Regions from separate parts of the Homo sapiens genome. Here regions 2 and 3 are each linked to region 1. The links are contacts of gene promoters, found by promoter capture Hi-C in blood cells and fetal thymus (Javierre and others, 2016). All regions are on one chromosome and are shown on one strand. The core of a region is centred on a gene start or on the middle of the fragment in contact, and the rest is flanking DNA. Distances in the headings are between cores, read along the strand shown.

The links. Contacts are between HindIII fragments. The CHiCAGO score rates a contact against its expected background, and 5 or more counts as called.
Region 2: the fragment with the promoter of RUFY1 here is called in contact with the fragment with the promoter of RMND5B in region 1 in 1 of 17 cell types (M0 macrophages); the score reaches 5.1 in M0 macrophages.
Region 3: a contact is called between a fragment that was not itself captured here and the fragment with the promoter of RMND5B in region 1, in 1 of 17 cell types (endothelial precursors). The highest score is 6.7, in endothelial precursors.

The regions. Positions count from the first base shown.
Region 1 is chr5:178,129,137-178,132,492 of GRCh38, forward strand. It overlaps RMND5B (required for meiotic nuclear division 5 homolog B), which reads left to right and starts at 1,878. Exons shown (of 11, transcript NM_022762.5): 1 at 1,878-1,918; 2 at 2,101-2,240. RefSeq lists enhancers at 400-1,051, 1,052-1,703, 2,982-3,356 and a silencer at 1,435-2,024. The HindIII fragment of the contact is 11,712 bases long and covers 179-3,356 here.
Region 2 is chr5:179,549,028-179,552,365 of GRCh38, forward strand. It overlaps RUFY1 (RUN and FYVE domain containing 1), which reads left to right and starts at 1,527. Exons shown (of 18, transcript NM_025158.5): 1 at 1,527-1,852. The coding sequence starts at 1,543. All of the region lies in intron 4 of LOC128966623 (a long non-coding RNA gene), which reads left to right. LOC105377762 (a long non-coding RNA gene) reads right to left here and starts at 1,477. Exons shown (of 4, transcript XR_941315.4): 1 at 917-1,477. RefSeq lists a silencer at 1,452-2,161. The HindIII fragment of the contact is 8,514 bases long and covers 1-3,338 here.
Region 3 is chr5:179,566,419-179,569,959 of GRCh38, forward strand. It overlaps RUFY1 (RUN and FYVE domain containing 1), which reads left to right. Exons shown (of 18, transcript NM_025158.5): 4 at 1,043-1,144; 5 at 2,884-3,007. All of the region lies in intron 4 of LOC128966623 (a long non-coding RNA gene), which reads left to right. Among named protein-coding and RNA genes, the nearest start is that of RUFY1, 18 kb to the left of the region's middle. The HindIII fragment of the contact is 1,274 bases long and covers 703-1,976 here.

The DNA.
Region 1 (3,356 bases), core at 628-3,127:
TGTAATCCCAGCAATTTGGGAGGCTGTGGTGGGTGGATCACCTGAGGTCAGGAGTTTGAGACCAGCCTGGCCAACATGGCAAAATCCCCTCTCTACTAAAAATACAAAAATTAGCCGGGCATGGTGGAGCATGTCTGTAATCTGTTACTCATGGAGCTGAGGCAGGACAATCGCTCGAAGCTTGGAGGTGGAGGTTGCAGTGAACCGAGATCACACCACTGCACTCCAGCCTGGGCAACAGAGCAAGACTTCATCTCAAAAAAAGAAAAAGAAAATTCAGTCTGGACCTGGGTTTGGGGTCAGTGCCTGTTCCCTCCTCCTTCCTAACCCTCACCCTTCCTCCTTAGGGCAGATGGGCAGCTCCCATCTTCTCCCCTTCCCCCGTTCCCCAGGACAGCGACCAACACAGGGCGGCAGGGTAGGGCTGGACCCCCTCCTCCGCAGAACTGAATTCTGTTGAATACCCAGTGGGCAGATTAAGTTCGGGCTAAGGGGACCAGAAAGGCTGGGACAGGAAAGGAGTTTTCTTTTCTTTTCTTTTTTTTTTTTTTGAGACGGAGTCTCGCTCTGTCGCCTAGGCTGGAGTGCAATGGCGCGATCTCGGCTCACTGCAACCTCCGCCTCTCGGGTTCAAACGATTCTCCTGCCTCAGTCTCCCGAGTAGCTAGGATCATGGGACTACAGGCGCCTGCCACCATTCCCGGCTAATTTTTGTATTTTTAGTACAGACGGGGTTTCACCATATTGGACAGGCTGGTCTCGAACTCCTGACCTTATGTTCCGCCCGCCTCAGCCTCCCAAAGTGCTGGGATTACAGGCGTGAGCCGCCCGGCCCGGAGTTTTCTATTCTTTTTTTTTGAGACGGAGTCTCGCTCTGTCGCCCAGGCTGGAGTGCAGTGGCGCCGTCTCGGCTCACTCCGAGCTCCGCCTCCCGGGTTCACGACATTCTCCTGCCTCAGCCTCCCGAGTGGCTGGGACTACAGGCGCCCCCCACCTCGCCCGGCCAATTTTTTGTATTTTTAGTAGAGACGGGGTTTCACCGTGTTAGCCAGGATGGTCTCGATCTCCTGACCTCCTGATCCGCCCGCCTCGGCCTCCCAAAGTGCTGGGATTACAGGCGTGAGCCGCCGCGCCCGGCCTGGAGTTTTCTTTTTTTTTTTAAGCATCACTTCATATTTCAAGAGCTCTCAGTTCTCCTGAGATTTCTAGGCTCTGTCCAGGATCCCTAAGCCTGTTCACAGTCCTACTTGAAGTTTCTAATCTTTCTTTTCTCATTAACCAAAACTGGAGAGAGGAAAAAGCCCATCATTTTCCCTGGACAGCAGCGCCTACTGGGAGTTTCACCCGCATTAACATGCAAACGACAGGCAAACTCCTAGTCATCCTTCCAAAGACCCTGCTCCACAGCCCTGCCGAGGCCGGTGCGCACCTAGCCCAGCCACTGCCCCTCACGGCCCCCGCGCCGCCCTCACTGAGCAGGGCGGGCAGCGCTGTAAGCGTAACCACTTGGGGCTTGGGGCTTCTGACCCGGGAGTCGGGTGCTGGGTTGAGTGCGAGGCCGACGCCTCTGCCGGGTGGGGAACCCGCCCGCCGGCGAGGAGCGGTCGCGGCCAGGGGCTTCCGCCGACTGGGAGGCCCGGGGCCGGGCCGGAGGGACTCGGAACCTGGAAACGACCAGGCGCGACCCCCAGAGGACTACAGGCGCGGCTTTTCTGGCCGCCGCCCGGTTCCCGCGGGCGACTCCACTCGGCATGCGCGGCGGGGAGCCTCGGCGGTGAGGCGCAAAGCCGCGGGCTCGTGGGACGGCCACCCCTCCGCAAAACCGCCAATGGGCGGGCCCGGGCCGCCGATCGCCCGCCGCGGCTTCCGGTTCCGATGACAGTGGCGCCGGAAGCCGGGGCCGGGGCTGCGGGGCGAGGTGAGAGCGGGCGGGCTTGGGAGCCGGCAGGTGCGGGCCGAGGGCGGGCACAGCGGCCGGCGGAGCTGAGGCGCGCGGCGGGGAAAGCTCGGCCGGCCTCCCGGGCCCCAGCCTTCTCCAGAACCCCTGCTACCCACGACTAAGCCCCGAACAATCTGCCCTTGGGCTTGTTCTCTTCGCAGTTGTCGGCCCTGGGCCGGGAGCTGGAGTCCCAGACTCATAGGTCCCGGCCCAGCCCCCGAAGAGCCGCCTCAGCCGGGGGGAGTTGCTCGGACTCAAACGTCCAGTCCTCGTGCGACCGCGCTGGGTCGGAAGTGAGCAGGTGCGCACCGGGCTCGGCAGGGCTATGGAGCAGGGTCTTTGGAAGGATGACTAGGAGTTTGCCTGTCGTTTGCATGTTAATGCGGGTGAAACTCCCAGTAGGCGCTGCTGTCCAGGGAAAATGATGGGCTTTTTCCTCCCTCCAGTTTTGGTTAATGAGAAAAGAAAGATTAGAAACTTCAAGTAGGACTGTATAGTAAAAAAAAAAAAAAAATGGAGGAGGGCGATATGACACGGTAACTGGTGTGAGGGTGGGGCGGAGGGGTCAGTATTAGATACTGTGGTCTAGCAGAGCATCTCTGAGGACGGGACATTTGCGTTGAGACCCAAATTAGGAGGCAGGCTTAGGAAGATACGGGAAGAGAGTGGTCCAGGCAGCGGGAACAGCCAGTGTGAAGGCCCTAGGGCAGAAATCAACTGAGAGTATAGTCAAGGAACAGAAAGCAAGCTAGTGTGGCTAAAGTATGGTAAGAAAGGGAAAGAGTGGTAGGAGATGAGGTCGGATAATTGGGGTTTGGTCACATAGAGTCTGTAGGTCAGAGAGAGGAATGTGGAGTTTTTTCTAAGTACAGTGGAAATCTTTTGGTTTTAAGCAGAGGAGTGACATGTAGGGTAGAGAGTGGATGGAGGTCGCGGCTGCAAAAGCATAAGAATTGGCTGGGCACGGTGGTTCACGCCCGTAATTCCAGCACTTTGGGAGGCTGAGACTGGCAGACGGCTTGAGCTCAGCACTTCAAGACCAACCTGGCCAACATGGTGAAACCCTGTCGCTCCAAAAAATTAGGCTGGGCGCAGTGGCTCACGCTTGTAACCCCAGCACTTTGGGAGGCCAAGGCGGGAGGATCACTTGAGGCCAGGAGTTCAAGACCAGCCTGGCCAACATGGTGAAACCCCGTCTCTACTAAAAATACAAAATTTAGCCGGGTGTGGTGGCAGGTGTCTGTAATTCCAGCTACTTGGGAGGCTGAGGCAGGAGAATCGCTTGAAACTGGGAAGCAAAGGTTGCAATGAGCCAAGATCGTGCCACTGTACTCCAGCCTGGGCGACAGAGTAAGACTCTGTCTCAAAAACAAACAACAAAAAAATTAGCCAGGTGTGGTGGGGAGAGAGGGGAAGA
Region 2 (3,338 bases), core at 277-2,776, 1.4 Mb after region 1:
CTACTCGGGAGGCTGAGGCAGGAGAATGGCGTGAACCCGGGAGGTGGAGCTTGCAGTGAACCGAGATCGCGCCACTGCACTCCAGCCTGGGCGACTGAGCGAGACTCCGTACGAAAACAAACAAACAAAAAAGACTGGTAGTATGCCCTCAGTCATTACACAACTCAAACACCAACTCCACAAATTCCCAAAACACTCCTAGATGAAGTGGTATCCCTTCACTGAGAACTGGCCTTTCAGGGACCAGACATATCATGCAACCTAGTGAAGTGGGCTGGACCAAGACAGGTCCAGGGAGCAGCTGGGCGTCTAAAGGGGCAGCACAGTTTATTCCCAACAGTTTGTTGCCATCTGGGAATATGCCATGAGTTACCAAATATTCCAGTGATTCCAGAGAAAGCTAAAATCCAGATTCTTATGTGAAATCTTTTGATTTCTAAATATTGGCAACAAGTTTTAAGATTTGTAAACATTCTGGGAATCAAAACAGCTCTGCTGGTTTGGTGTGGCTCATGTTGCCTCACTTTGCAAAGTGTTAAGTGCTAGTAAATTTTAGTGTTTTTTCTGAGACAGGGTCTCACTTTGTCGCCCAGCCTGGAGTGCAGTGGCCATGATCTCCGCTCACTGTGGGATCGACCTCCCGGGCTCAAGCGATCCTCCCACTCTCAGCCCCCCAAGGAGCTAGGAGTAGAGCTGTCCCGCCACGACATCTGGCTGGTTTTTTGTTGTTGTTGTTGTTGTTGTTTTGGTATTTTAGTAGAGACGGGGTTTCGTCCTACTAAAGGCCCGCCTGGGCCTTCCGAAGTGCTGGGATTACAGGCGTGAGCCACCGCGCCCGGCCAAAATTTTCCTTTGTACTTACTCAAATTCCTTTCTTTTCCAAGTGAAGAAACAGACTGAGTGTATAGTGACTTACCCAGGCCACACAGTTGGATACCAGAGATAGTAGTCACAATCGCTAACATCTGCCATGTGGTCCTTACTGCAAATCTTATTTAATAATGAGGTCGGTTTTTGTTATCCCACTTAACTAATCAATAGGAGAAGCCACCTCTGATTTCCAGTCCACTATCGTGCACTCTTTCTTGCCAAGCCGTCATAGTCATTAGATTAAAAAAAAAAAAAAATTCCTGCTTTCCTGCCTCGCCTGTGCGTTTCCTTAGTCGCCCTTTCGGGGCTTGTTCTAATGAGTGCTACAGAAAAATGACGAAGTGGAAAATATAGACCATGAAATGAAAATTTAAAAGAGGAAATGGTGTCACAAAGACAACGACGGCCAGGGAACCCCGTGAAGCGCCGGGCAGGGTGCACAACTGTCCTCGGAGAAAGTTCAAGAGGAACTTCCCCGCGAACAGGTCCTGCCGGCGGCCGGGAATACGCACACTTTTTATGTTATGACTTGGACTTTCCCGAACCTTTCGAAACAGAGGGAAGGCGAGGCGGTGAAGAGGGAGAAAAATCTCCCCCACCTAAGGCAAAGGCGATGCCCGCCCGCCCCCACCCCGCGCCCGCCCGCCCGCTGGGTCACATGACACGGCCAAGATGGCCGACCGGGAAGGCGGCTGCGCTGCTGGGCGGGGGCGGGAGCTGGAGCCGGAGCTGGAGCCGGGGCCGGGGCCCGGGTCAGCGCTTGAGCCGGGAGAAGAGTTTGAGATCGTGGACCGAAGCCAGCTGCCCGGCCCAGGCGACCTGCGGAGCGCAACGAGGCCGCGGGCGGCCGAGGGCTGGTCGGCGCCCATCCTGACCCTGGCACGCAGGGCCACCGGGAACCTGTCGGCGAGCTGCGGGAGCGCGCTGCGCGCGGCCGCGGGGCTGGGCGGCGGGGACAGCGGGGACGGCACGGCGCGCGCAGGTAGGCTCGGGCCGGGTCTGTCCCGCGGCGGACTCGCGTGTCCCCGCTGGCCGCCGGCGCGGGCGCGGTGGGGGCCGGGCTGGGAGGGCACTGGCCGTTCCGGGAGGTTACGCGAGCTGTTGGCGGGCGGGCGGCGCCTGGCTGCGCCTGGGTCTTTACTCCGGCGGCCCAGCCGAGACCGCCCCCCGCAGCCCCGCGTGCCTGAGCGCGCTCCCGCACCCGCGCCTCTATGCTCTCCCACTAACTAGGTGAAGGACGTGTGCGCGTCCGGGCTTCGGAACTCTGTAGTAACTCCACACACGAAACGGAGCCAGCACTGTTCTGCTTTTCAGCCGTTCAGTGCGGGAGTGGAGCGCCGGCGGGTGTTGGGAGGGCGTGGGCCCTGCGCGCAGCGGACCAGCGGCGCCTCCGCTCACCTCTGCCTGTGAGATGGGGATTTTAAAGTCACCCGATGATCTCTTAAAGACCTTTTCAGCCCTTGTAATGAACAGAGTGCCAGCATATCAGTGATAGTAAGAGTTAAGTAACTTAGCCCTCTAACGCCAGACATCCAGAGCTGTGCTATCCAATACAACAGCACGCATATGTTTTTGTGTGTGTGTTTTTGTTTTTATTTATTTTTATTTTTTTGAGACCGGGTCTTGCTCTGTCGCCCAGGCTGGAGTGCAGTGGTGCGATCTCGGCTCACTGCACCCTCTGCCTCCCGGGTTCAAGCGATCCTCCCTCCCGCCTCAGCCTCCCGAGTAGCTGGGATTACAGGTGCCCACCACCACGCTCGGCTAAGTTCCCCGCCCCCACCCCCCTCCCATATTTTTAGTAGAAACGGGGTTTCACCATCTTGGCCAGGCTGGTCTTGAACTCCTGACCTTGTGATACACCTGCCTCGGCCTCGTAAAGTACTGGGACTACAGGCTTGAGCCACCGCGCCCGGCCGGATTCCTCAATTTCTAACTGAATCAATTGAAATTCAGTACTTTTAAATTGAATTAAAAATTGAGTTCCTCGGCCGGGAGCGGTGGCTCACGCCTGTAATCCCAGCACTTTGGGAGGCCGAAGCGGGTGGATCACGAGGTCAAGAGATCGAGACCATCCTGGCCAACATGGTGAAACCCCGTCTCTACTAAAAATACAAAAAATTAGCTGGGTGTGTTGGCATGCACCTGTAGTCCCAGCTACTCAGGAGGCTGAGGCAGGAGAATCGCTTGAACCTGGGAGGCAGAGGTTGCAGTGAGCCGAGATCGCGCCACTGCACTCCAGCCTGGGTGACAGAGCGAGACTCTGTCTCAAAAAAAAAAAAAAAAAAAAAAACTTGTTCCTCGATTACAGCGGCCACATTTTAAATGCTCAGTAGCCTGTGTGTGGCCAGTGGCTACTGTATGAGATAGCACATAATAGAACATTGCCAACTTCATAGAAAATGCTGGGACAGAGCTGAGGAAAGGTTGTGGTGCCTTCCAAGGAGCATCATAGCACACACTCGAGGCTT
Region 3 (3,541 bases), core at 90-2,589, 1.4 Mb after region 1:
ACATGGTGGAAACCCCATCTCTACTAAAAATACAAAAATTAGCTGGGCGTGGTGGCAGGTGCCTGTAATCCCAGCTACTCGGGAGGCTGAGGCAGGAGAATCACTTGAACCTGCGAGGTGGAGGATGCAGTGAGCCAAGATCACAACGGTGAGCCAAGATTGTGCCACTGCACTCTAACCTGGGTGACAGAGTGAGGCTCCATCTCGAAAAAAAAAAAAAAAAAGATTGGTTCCACAACATTGTGAATGTACTTAACACTACTTAACTGTAAGATTAAAAATGGTTAACATGGTAAATTTTATGTTCTGTGTATCTTACCACAATTAATAATAAAACATAAAATTATACCTTTAAGGCCAGGTGCAGTGGCTCATGCCTGTAATCCCAGCACTTTGCGAGGCCAAGGCAGCCTGATCACTTGAGGCCAGGAATTTGAGACCAGCTTGGCTAACATGGCAAAACCCTGTCTCTACTAAAAACAAAAATTAGCCAGGTGTGGTGATGCATGCCTGTAATCCCAGCTACTCAGGAGGCTGAGCCATGAGAATCGCTTGAACCCAGGAGGCGGAGGTTGCAATGAGCTGAGATTGCACCACTGCACTCCAGCCTGGGCAACAGGCAAGACTCTATCTCAAAAAAAAATAAAAAATAAAAAATAAAAAGTACGTTTGAGCTAACCCTAACCCCTTAGAGATTTTATAAGCTTCAGCACTTTAACAAGCACTAAGTTCTCTATTCGTCTTTTGAAGGAATGTTTATCCATTACACAAATCTAACCTGATATTTTCCTGTGATATTTTATGACTATAAGCAAAGCATTATCTAATTGTATTTGTAATAGTACTCAAAGGTATGTGGTGAGCCATTTTCGCTGCCTGCCCAGGCCATGTGCATCCCTCCCCAACCCCAAACAGCCATTCTTAGAGTATCGTCTGCATTTACAAGGGTGTGTTTCCTATGTGTCTCCCTGGCTAAATCAGGTGTCTTTTCTGTGTTTGTTGTTGTTATGCCACAATAGTTGATTCTCTGTTTGAATTCTAGGACAGCTGTGGGAAGAGGCCGAGCGTGGCTTTATCTTGCACTCATGCAAAAGAAACTGGCAGATTATCTGAAAGTGCTTATAGACAATAAACATCTCTTAAGGTATTTCATCAACCATGTTTGCTTATCTTTTGCTTGGTAAATAATTAGAACATAGGCTGGGTGCGGTGGCTCACACCTGTAATCCCAGCACTTTGGGAGGCCAAGATCAGGTGGATTGCTTGAGGTCCGGAGTTCAAGACCAGCCTGGCCAACATGGTGTCGTATTTTTAGTAGAGACTAAAAATACGAAAATTAGCCAGGTGTGGTGGCAGGTGCCTGTAATCCCAGCTACTCAGAAGGCTGAGGCAGGAGAATCGCTCGAACCCGCGAGGCGGAGGTTGCAGTGAGCCGAGATCACGCCACTGCACTCCAGCCTGGGCGACAGAGTGAGACTCCTTCTCAAAAAAATAATAATTAGAACATAGTTCTGTAGATCATTTTGAATTAAAATAAGTGTATCAGCCAGGTGTGGTGGCTCATGCCTGTAATCCCAGCACTTTGGGAGGCCAAGGCAGGCTGATCACTTGAGGTCAGAAGTTCAAAAACAACCTGGACAACATGGTAAAACCCCATCTCTGCTAAAAATACTAAATTAGCTGGGCATGGTGGCATATGCCTATAATCCCAGCTACTCAGGACGCTGAGGCAGGAGGATTGCTTGAACCCAGGAAAGCAGAGGTTGCAGTGAGCCAAGATCACACCACTGTACCTCCAGCCTGGGCAACAGAGCAAGACTCTGTCTCAAAATAAAAAATAAAAAAATAAGTATATAATATTTACAGAAATTTATGACTGGTTCATTTTTTATATTTATAAGTAAGCAATAATCATTATAAAAGGAATGTTCTCTAGACTGTGATGATTTACGAGGAAGGACTCTTTCCAGAGTTAAAGCTTTCTTGTAATTGAGAAATAGATACATTTTACAGCATAGCCTAAAACCCAAGCCTTTCAGTGTTTTCAAGTCATGGCTCATTGTCGAACATATCTTTACACGACAAATACTGATTTACAATATTTCACATACTCTGAGTAGTTACACTGAGTAACTTTGAGTTACAGATTTTCTTCTAATGAACAAAGTATTTTTCAATTTTTTATTTATAATCGATACAAAATTATACATATTTATGGGATACTATGCATGTATACACTATGTAATGATGAAATCAGGGTAATTACCATATCCCTCACTTTACTAATGAACTAATTCTTAAGAGAAAAGTCTTATACGCACACACACACAGTGGCCTGGATGCCACTGGATTTGGTACATTAGCAAGTCATTGCTGACCAGAGCAATATCAGGCAGGGGATGGACCACCCCCTGCAAATGGCCGCGATAACTGGGCAATAAAGGAAGTAAAGCAACAGATGTTGCTCCGTGGGACGCAAGAAGGAGGAGTGTTATTCTTGGATGTGGGATCCCATTTCCTGTTTATATCAGCATAAGTGGAGAAGTAATTCATATCAACACAGAACAGGAGCCAGTGGAGACACAGGAGGGGAGAGTGACAGGAGTCAAGAGGAGACGAGGAGAACTGGGGTCCAGGGTCTGCATGGAGGAGTTAACTTTAGACAGGAGGAGAGGCGAGCCCATTCTAAGCCACAGGAAGAGAGGAGAGGACGGGAGAAAAAGCAGCCGTTGAAGCAGTGAAGAGAAATGAAAGGGAGGGAGGAAATCCACAGCAGTATCTTCTGGCTCCAGGGCACAGGTGAAAAGGCAGTTCAGGGTGGGGAAGGAGTGGGGATGGTGAAGCTGTTTCTGAGCATCGCCCTGTCCTGTCCATCTCTTTCAGCGAGTTCTATGAGCCTGAGGCTTTAATGATGGAGGAAGAAGGGATGGTGATTGTTGGTCTGCTGGTGGGACTCAATGTTCTCGATGCCAATCTCTGCTTGAAAGGAGAAGACTTGGATTCTCAGGTAAAATGAAATTTTGGCTCTAGATGAACACTTTCGTTAGTCCAGGGACTTTACATAGGATCTGCAAACAGGTACTGAACCCAAAGAAGGGCAAATGGCAAAGAGCCCACTGGTAGAGGACCCCAGGGATGCAGCTGGGGAAGGTCTCGGAAGGGTGAAGAAGTTGCATAGCCAGAGGTACACACGGAAAGCTTGGCAGGTTTGGGAACAGGCAGACAGCTCTCCATGGCTGGAGTAGAGGATGCTCTGTGGGCGAGGTGAAAGTGGAGGCTGGGCCTGATAGTTAGGCCATTGGTGCTATGCTGAAGGGTGTAGCTTTTTTGTTGTTGTTTTTTTTGAGACGGAGTCTCGTTGTGTCTCCCAGGCTGGAGTGCAGTGGCGCGATCTCGGCTCCCTGCAACCTCCGCCTCCCGGGTTCACACCATTCTCCTGCCTCAGCCTCCCGAGTAGCTGGGACCACAGGTGCCCGCCACCACGCCCAGCTAATTTTTTGTATTTTTAATAGAGACGGGGTTTCACCGTGTTAGCCAGGAT